3 separate regions of the Homo sapiens genome follow, and all the other regions are linked to region 1. The links are contacts of gene promoters, found by promoter capture Hi-C in blood cells and fetal thymus (Javierre and others, 2016). All regions are on one chromosome and are shown on one strand. Each heading gives the region's core, a stretch centred on a gene start or on the middle of the fragment in contact. The rest is flanking DNA. Distances are from core to core; before and after follow the strand shown.

Region 1 (2,874 bases), core at 279-2,778:
CTTATTAATTGGCACCTGCCTATATCTTCTCAGTGGCTTCCCACTGACTTATGTATCTTTCCACTACCTACAGAATCCTATATGATCTGGCCATTGCCTATCTCCTTGTGGTACAACTTTCTCCCTAGTTCTCCCCATTTTATAGATTAAAAAACTGAAGCACAGGTTAAGTTACTTGTTCTTTCACATACTGCTAACAGGTGATGAGTCAGGATTTGAATCCATGAAGTCTGGATCCAGAGTCTGTCCTCTTATCAGTAAGACTATATTCTCTCAAAACTATTCATAAATATATTATAATTAGAAACATTTTACTTAAAAAGCAACATTAATATATATTCAGTGCCAGAGTACATAACACCAATAAGTGCAAACTATTAGTACTCATCTGTTTGACAACAAAGAGCAGCATATTAATGACAGTAGCAGAGATGTATTTCTTTGTAGGGAATACAAAATCCCTACAAAATAGGGATTTAGCAAATAAAGAGAAGTAGACATTCAATGGCCTTACCCACCAAGAAACAGCTGACTGTTTGTTTCGTTTTTAAACAGGGCTTTTCGAGGGTGGGGGTGGGGAAACTGTTGTTGAATATGTGTATGTAAAGCTCTCAAATTTGAGAGCTAAAAAGTTTCAAATTGGGCATAAAAATAAACTATGTTACAGAAATGTATGGAACAGTTGCAAGACATTTGACCAGTGAAAACCACATTTACTTACCAAGCTTCTCCAAACAGTAAAGGTGATGCTTTTAGGGGAAGCAAGGCTTAATTTGATGGTTAAAAAACATGGGCAATCATGTAAGAGAATCCTGAAGGGATATGACTATGAATACTATTTCTTCAGGAGGCACAAGTCTCTTTGCAACATAAAGGGTAAGTAAAGGAATACTGTTGATGGTATGTTATTCATAGTAAAGATAGATAGTAGTTAAGTACAAAAAGAATCCATACCACAAAAACCTGCATATTGGTTGACAATTTTTGAACATATTGCCTAATGAAATGCTAATAACTTAAATTTTTTTTTTAACTTAAAAAAATCATTCCGCAATATCGAAGTCACACTAGGTGACTTCACCTCTTTATCTTTTTCACAGCATTCTTATTTTATTTGGTCCTCAAGAAGTGTCAAATCAGGCAATTAACATAGTAAACTCGGGGAACAACTCTAGCCTTGTGTTCCAGTCCTTGCTCTGCTACTTACTAGAAGTGGCTGCTTGGGAAAGATAACATCCTTTGAACTGTAGTTTCTCATCTGTGCCATGTACATCACAGGTTTACTGAGGGTATCACATGTATACGTAAAAACATTTTGAAAACCATTATGTGCTAGTCAAACATAAAATATTGAAAGAAAAAGAAGGTATTTCCATTTTGTAATATAATAATTTGTTAATTTTTTTTTCAGTAGCTACTATGTACTAAGCACTAATGATACAACAAGAAAGACTCTTACCAGGCCAGGCGCAGTGGCTCACACCTGTAATCCCAGCACTTTGGGAGGCCGAGGCGGGTGGATCACTTGAAACCAGGAGTTCGAGGCCAGCCTGGTCAACATGGTGAAACCCCATTTCTACTAAAAATACCAAAATTAGCTGGGTGTGGTGGCAGGCACCTGTAATCCCACTACTATAGTGGCTGAGGCAGGAGAATCCCTTGAACCCAGGGGCAGAGGCTACAGTGAGCTGAGATCGTGCCACTACACTCCAGCCTGGGCAACAGAGACTCTGTCTCAAAAAAAAAAAGAAAAAAGAAAAAAGAAAAAAAAAAAAGACTCTTACCTAAGTAATTAAGTATAGAGTGGGAAACAAACTAGCAAGCAAATAATTACAATACAAAGTACTATGAAAGGGCACAGTGAAGCAATGAACAGGAAAGGTGGAACAGAAATACTAAATTATAATACTTCCTTAAGAACAAATGCTTAATAAGTACTAGCGTAGGAGCTAAACTCAAGTAATCCGACATCAAATCCAGAATGTCTTTAACCCACAGAACCTCAATATCACAACATGCTATAATACTCTTATGTGTTCTGATGTAAAAAGTATCAGCCACCTTTCAAAATATATCAACCAAACTCCAGGCTAATTTCAAATACCCTGCATAGTCAGTTATTTTGCATGACAAATGGTAGGTAGGACTTCTTTCTCAAAACAGTGCATGGTCAAACTGCTATAATGGATATAGAAGTTCACATTCCTTTCCAAAATATATTATGTGATGGGGACAACTCTCGTGATAATTCTAATTTGGATCTAACACGTATTAGGAATGCTCTCTGAATGCTAGTTCTTGGTATAGGAGTGCTACATAAGTAAAGCTTTTATTTCATCATTATAGTTGAAAAAGAAAGTTATCACCGAATCTCTACAAACATTACTGTGCATGAGACAACTACATCTTTTGGCACCAGATGAACTAAGAATAGGTAGCAAAGTTCTGTACAAGTCACCCCCAAACTATTGACAGAGATTGTTCCTTGAATAACAACTCAATTGAGGGGAAATAAAGACTTCTCTGCTATACTTTTTCTCGAAGAAACCATGTTTTTTGCTTAATAAAAATTTAAAAAGCCTAAGTTTTGAGGATAAAGAGACCTCAGCATGACTGTGTATTTAACCCGAAAATATATCCTTATCTTAGGTTTTAGTTATGCTTAACTAACATAGTTAACCTAACATATGCTTAACACAGTTCTATTCTCATTGTCGCCAAAATACGACAAACTGATAGTAACAGTAATAAACTCAAGTCTCATTTAGTTTTGGTTCAAGGGGTGACTCATTCAATTATCAGATGAAAAACTACTCGGACCCCGCTCTTTCCAACACGGTGCCCGTCCCACAGGTTTCTCAGGTAAGAGGCCAG
Region 2 (2,874 bases), core at 246-2,745, 3.0 Mb before region 1:
AGCCTCCCAAACTGCAGGTATTACAGGCATGAGCCACCATGCCTGGTCTGCATGAATTTTGAAATATCAAAAGGAAGTAAATAAGATGGGAGAGATGCACCGTTCCTGGGTTTCTGGAGGTATTGAAATACAGGTTGATGTGTAGAGTGGTGGAGCAAACTCCTATTCCATCTCCTTGCTTCAAAAACCCATTTAACATATTTTCCTTGGATAGAGAATGTGTCAAATATTAAACTGTTAAGAACAGATACTACACTTGATCTTAGCCAAAAGGATAAGTTTCACTGGAGTAGCCTGCAGTAGATCTGGAGCTTCTCTTCTGGAGACCACTTAAGAGGCTACTTTAATAGGTGAAAAGATGATAAGGAATTAAAAAAAGGAACATTTCAGTGGTAACAGAGAGGCAGGGACAGATGGAAATATTTCAGGAATAGCATGGAAGATAATATTCCGCATCACCTGCACTCTGATTCACTCTGGTAAATGGGACACGTGGGGGATCGGCTTCCTAAGCTATCCCAGTACTTCACACATGTTTGTTTCTGTGCCCATGAAATCGCCAGTGTCTTTAAGGTAAGGATCATATATTTTTATCTGTGTTCCTAGAACCCTTTCAAAGACACGCTGAAAGGTGGCCTGTATGGTTGCTGAATCATTGGTAAATAGACATTCATAAATGACTAAAGATTACAGGTTATCTCACAGTAAAATCATTAGCATTAAAAGTTCAGTAATGACTGATGAGACACTACACTGATTACATTTCAACCTAATCTTTCAAAAGCGATTTATTTTTAAAAGTCTCCATTAAACTGGCAAATTCCTCATCCCACAAATAGCCATAAAGACTGGAGTACCAGCTTCAAAATACTTTTTTTTCTTTTTTCTTTTTGAGACGAAGTCTCGCTCTTGTTCCCCAGGCTGGAGTGCGATGGCGCGATCTCTGCTCATTGCAACCTCCGCCTCCCGGGTTCAAGCGATTCTCCTGCCTCGGCCCCCCAGTAGCTGGGATTACAGGCGCCTGCCACCACGCCCGGCTAATTTTTGTATTTTTTTTTTTTAATAGAGACGGGGTTTTACCATGTTGACCAGGCTGATCTAGAACTCCTGACCTCAGGTGATCTACCGGCCTCGGCCTCCCAAAGTGCTGGGATTACAGGCCACCCACCCAGGCCACCGCGCCCGGCCTCAAAATACTTTTTTCCTTAGCTGATTTTATCGAGTGGCTATGTGCCTAAGGGAGTGTTCTAAGCAGACGTTAGTTAGGACCCAGAACGTGGGAAGTACTGGTTTCCAGATCAATTTGGTGGTGATCGTAAACCGATTCAAATCTCTAAATCCCAATTGCACGCCGACGTTACGGAACCAAAAACGCTGACGCCCACATTTCTGGGCGGACGCACAAGTATGTTACGATGGCTCGATTGCTTTTGCCTAGCGGAAACCATTCACTAAGGACCGAGCACCAAATAACCAAGGAAAAGGAAGTGAGTTAAGGACGTACTCGTCTTGGTGAGAGCGTGAGCTGCTGAGATTTGGGAGTCTGCGCTAGGCCCGCTTGGAGTTCTGAGCCGATGGAAGAGTTCACTCATGTTTGCACCCGCGGTGATGCGTGCTTTTCGCAAGAACAAGACTCTCGGCTATGGAGTCCCCATGTTGGTGAGTGGAGTGAGGAGGATCTTCCGCAAGGGGTGGGACCCTCCTCCTTGGCAGGATCAAGACCTGGGAGGGAATCTGTAAAATGTGAAGTTAAGGGCTGGCACTCGGGCTAGGAAGGAGCTAGCGACGGGGTGAGAGCTTTCCTAAAAGCTCTTCCACCAGTCTTTTCCACACCCCCACTTCCCCGCCGCTGTCCCCCACTCCCGGTTGGATTTCAGGTGTACTAGGATCTGTCTGCTTGTGAGCGTGGCGTCTTTCCCATCGTCGAACGCGGTCATTGTTACTACCCTTGATTCACAGTTAAGTAAATTGAAGCTCAGAGAATTCAGTCAGAACCACACTTTAAGCCAAGTTTGGATGATTACTAAGCTTGCTTCCTCGCCCCCAACTTAGCTATGTTTTGACGATACTGTGGATCATTGGGACTAGATGTATTCCATTTAACTGCACGAATTCCTGGTATCTTTCTGTTTCATCTTTCTAGTTTGTGAATTAGCTTAATACTTAGAGTTGTGATGAACTAATAACACCTTGTGAATAAAGTGTTGAGTACGGTGCCTGCCACATTGTAGCCAGAATGATTGCTGTGTTATAATTTCTAAAGCACGTTGAAAACAGCTTCCGTGTTTATATGGTTTCATCCATATCCACACTGAGTTCCCTAAGGATGTCATGAAATGCAGGCTGAGGCTGGCTTAAGACAACCAGAGTTGAAATCCAGATGACTCTTATTTGCTTTTTGATTACGGGCCAGTTATTTTGCTTCAGCAAGCCTTGATGTGTTAGTAAATGAAATAATTAAAGCATATGAACAAAAGCTGCTTTTAAATACAGACTATATTTTTATTTTGTATGAATGTTGGCGCAGATGAAATTACCAGCTTTTCCATTTAAGCAGACTAAAGGAAAGAAGTGATCTTAGAAAGGTAATGGATATTTTACACAGTTTTGAAAAATCCACATTCATCAAATGTGGATTTTAGGAATCTCCAAAAGATTCACCCATTTGAAGTATCTGGGCCAAGCACGATGGCTCACACCTGTAATCCCAGTGTTAGGGGAAGCCAAGACAGGAGGATCGCTTTAGGTCAGGAGTTCCAAACCAGCAAGACCTCTGTCTCTCCAAAAAAAAAAAAAAAAAAAAAAATTGTTGTTTTTAGCAAATTCGATATTAGTATACTAATATATTCGTATATTAGTATATTCTTAGTTATG
Region 3 (2,874 bases), core at 375-2,874, 2.4 Mb after region 1:
AGGGTGCAGTAAGCCAGTGCATCCCAGCCTGGCAACAGGGCGAGACCCCATCTCAAAAAAAAAAAAAAAAAAAAAGGCAATCCCATAGTCTAAGGTCAGATAATAAGTAAAACACTTGACCTGAATCAACTCAGCAATCCATCATTTAGGAATTCTGCAAAGATCCTGTAGGTTTTTCATCAATGGGAAATTTCTTTACAATCTTTTGCAGTCAGCCTTCCCTGGGACACACTGGTAGGCAAACCAACCTGGAGAATTAGCTAGATTCGAGAGGTGAGGATTTCCTTTGCTACCCTAAATTCCATGAAGTTTAAATCTCCAGTTAAAATATTTTCTCTGCTACTTTGTGAATAACCACGTATCAAGCCCTTGTTTCTGTTATAAATTTATAATTCTATTTAGTCATAACTGTACAATAAAACAATTATTGTTACTAATTTTGCCAAAGTACAGGCTTCCAACTTAAAGTAGGAAATACAAAACAGGTCTCTCCAAGGTAAAGCCTGGAGACTGATCTCACTAAGAGATCTTATTTCAGTAAGCAGCAGAATGTTCATTTATTAGTGTTAAGAATTATCCTAACCACTTCTCCTAGGGACAGATGGATAAACAGTTCCACATAGCAACCTTGGGAACAATTCCAATTAGGGAATAAGAAGAAAAACAAAACTATGGTTTTGGGCATATGAATATATACTCATTCGCCAAACACTTTTCAAAATGATAGGTTCGATCCTACTTCTAGGCCTTAGGGAATGATTAGTAGTCCAAAATCCATTCTTTCTATTAGATCACTTTCCAAACTGTTTTCCTGCCTGTCCCCCAACCAGGCTCCTGGTCAGGAGCTGTTTTATTTCCTTGTACTTCCATCGTTTAATATTGTGTCCGACACGTAGCTGGTGCTCAAATGGCTGAATGACTACCAAAATGCCCACCCACGAGGCGGGCCCCCAAACCTGGCACTGTAGGTCAAAAATTAAACAGATCGTGAAACGGCATGACAGCAGCCTGGCCCTGCTCTCTGCCTCCAGAAGCTGAGGGCAGGTTGGGAAAAGTGCACTATGCACCCCAGAACCTCCCGAAGTACTGGCAGAACAGAGTGGGCTGTCCGACCCGCACGGGCTGCCTCTGTCCTCCAGGCATAGAACACGATTCTTCTCGTTCTTTAGGGCAGAGGGGACTCGGCTACTGCCCTCTCCTCCAAGCCCAACCTTGAAACGACCCTTCCCCAAGCTGGCCGCGCAAACGCTCCACGACGAAGCCCAAGCCTGGGCGCCCGGAGCTTCCCAGAGGAAAGGCACCGCGGTGCGCTGTGGGAGTCGTAGTTCCCCGGTGAGTTCCGCACCCGGGCGGCCCTACGAACGGGACTCGCGCTCCCAGAACACATCGCGCGGGCGCCTCGCCCAGTCCTGCCACCTCACCTGTTCTATGGACGTGACTGTTTCCACCGAGTCGTCCTGCAACCGCTCTCGCGCGTGCTCGGGCCTCAGACTGTACAGCGGCTCTGACCAGACGGGGGAGGAAGATGGAGGGCAATAGTAGGTGAAAGAACTCGGAGAAGCCATGATCAGGAGAGCAGCAGACAGTGTGTAGGACTCTGCTTCGTTAAGCAACAACGCGCATTGAAACTCGAGCGGGCTAAAGCGCTACGGCGAGCGGATAGAGGCAAAAAGATTTTGAACGCGAATGTCTCCTCCCGCCTACCCGTCTTTCGAGTGAGTTACTGAGATGCTGCCGCCCCCCATTGGGCAGAGGAGCTGCTGCAAGAGCGTAGAGTCCTGAAGCGCAAGGGTGTCTACATCCGAATTTCATTTCAGCGAGATGGCGTAGGACGCCTCGGTTTGTTACGCAAATTGTTAAAGAACTGTAACATTCTGCTAATTCTCACTTAATTGTAATGCAATTGTTTGCAATTTCAGGTGCCCAAGAACCCAATGAATGTTAAGTTTGAAAGCATTTCTGACAGCTCTACTGATTTGCCTCAGTCAGGCAATTACTAAAAGAATTATTGTGCACCTTGGGGTACTTGACAGCCTCCCAGGAGAAGGCAGCAGCTGCTCAAACGTGCAAGGACGCCGTCTCAGTATCACTCAGTGATGGAGGGAGGGGGGTATTATGATTTTCTCCTGTCTCTTGGAGGTTACACTGCAGTAGCGAGAACTGAAATGCAGTACAAGGAACAAGGATAAGTGAAATAGACAGTCAGTCCGCAGATATTTATGGAACACCTGCTATGTGTCAGGCATTGTGCTAGGTTCTAGGAATACAAAAGTGAACAAAACGAAGTCCCTTCCCTTGGAAACCTTACATTCTAAGAAAATCGACAGAATTGAATGTATCCAACGCAATAAATATATGAAGACTTGTGATAAATGAGATGAAGGAAAATAACAGGGTCTATGAGAGAGACTAAAGGGGTAAGAAACTAATTGAATTGTATGGTCAGGCCAAGCCTCTCTAAATGACCTTTCATTTGAGATCCGAAGGATGACGAGGAGTCATCCAGAAGAACAGTATGGGAAAGAACTCCTGAAAAAGGAAGAAACAGCAGCTTTTAGAAGACATGTGCTGGGCACGGTGGCTCACGCCTGTAACCCCAGCACTTTGGGAGGCTGAGGCAGGAGGATCACTTGAGGAGTTAGAACATCCTGGGCAACATAGCAAGACCTCATCTCTATTAAATATCAAAAAAATTAGCCGGGCGTGGTGGCGCATGCCTGTAGTCCCAGCTGCTCGACAGGCTAAGGTGGGAGGATCTCTTGAGCCCAAGAAGTCGAGGCTGCAGTGAGCTATGATTGTGCCACTGCACTCCAGCCTGGGTGGCAGAGCGAGACCCTGTTTCAAAAAAAAAAAAAAAGCAAAACAAAAAAACAA

Evidence for each region. The method cuts DNA at HindIII sites, captures the fragments that hold promoters and counts their contacts. A CHiCAGO score of 5 or more calls a contact.
Region 2: a contact is called between the fragment with the promoter of COX16 here and a fragment that was not itself captured in region 1, in 3 of 17 cell types (non-activated CD4 T cells, total CD4 T cells and naive CD8 T cells). The highest score is 5.6, in non-activated CD4 T cells.
Region 3: the fragment with the promoter of FNTB here is called in contact with a fragment that was not itself captured in region 1 in 1 of 17 cell types (M2 macrophages); the score reaches 5.2 in M2 macrophages.

What each region holds. Positions count from the first base shown.
Region 1 is chr14:67,360,907-67,363,780 of GRCh38, reverse strand. The region is part of intron 1 of EIF2S1 (eukaryotic translation initiation factor 2 subunit alpha); the gene reads right to left. It also overlaps a transcript of GPHN not described here. Among named protein-coding and RNA genes, the nearest start is that of EIF2S1, 2.0 kb to the right of the region's middle. The HindIII fragment of the contact is 1,601 bases long and covers 728-2,328 here.
Region 2 is chr14:70,358,304-70,361,177 of GRCh38, reverse strand. It overlaps COX16 (cytochrome c oxidase assembly factor COX16), which reads left to right and starts at 1,495. Exons shown (of 4, transcript NM_016468.7): 1 at 1,495-1,659. The coding sequence starts at 1,591. The region is part of intron 3 of SYNJ2BP-COX16 (SYNJ2BP-COX16 readthrough); the gene reads left to right. It also overlaps the pseudogene RNU2-51P. RefSeq lists enhancers at 916-1,005, 1,466-1,775. The HindIII fragment of the contact is 4,146 bases long and covers 1-2,030 here.
Region 3 is chr14:64,985,645-64,988,518 of GRCh38, reverse strand. FNTB (farnesyltransferase, CAAX box, subunit beta) reads right to left here and starts at 1,624. Exons shown (of 12, transcript NM_002028.4): 1 at 1,422-1,624. The coding sequence starts at 1,565. All of the region lies in intron 3 of CHURC1-FNTB (CHURC1-FNTB readthrough), which reads right to left. It overlaps LOC107984655 (a long non-coding RNA gene), which reads left to right and starts at 1,406. Exons shown (of 2, transcript XR_001750792.2): 1 at 1,406-1,839; 2 at 1,920-2,874. The HindIII fragment of the contact is 3,816 bases long and covers 1-2,874 here.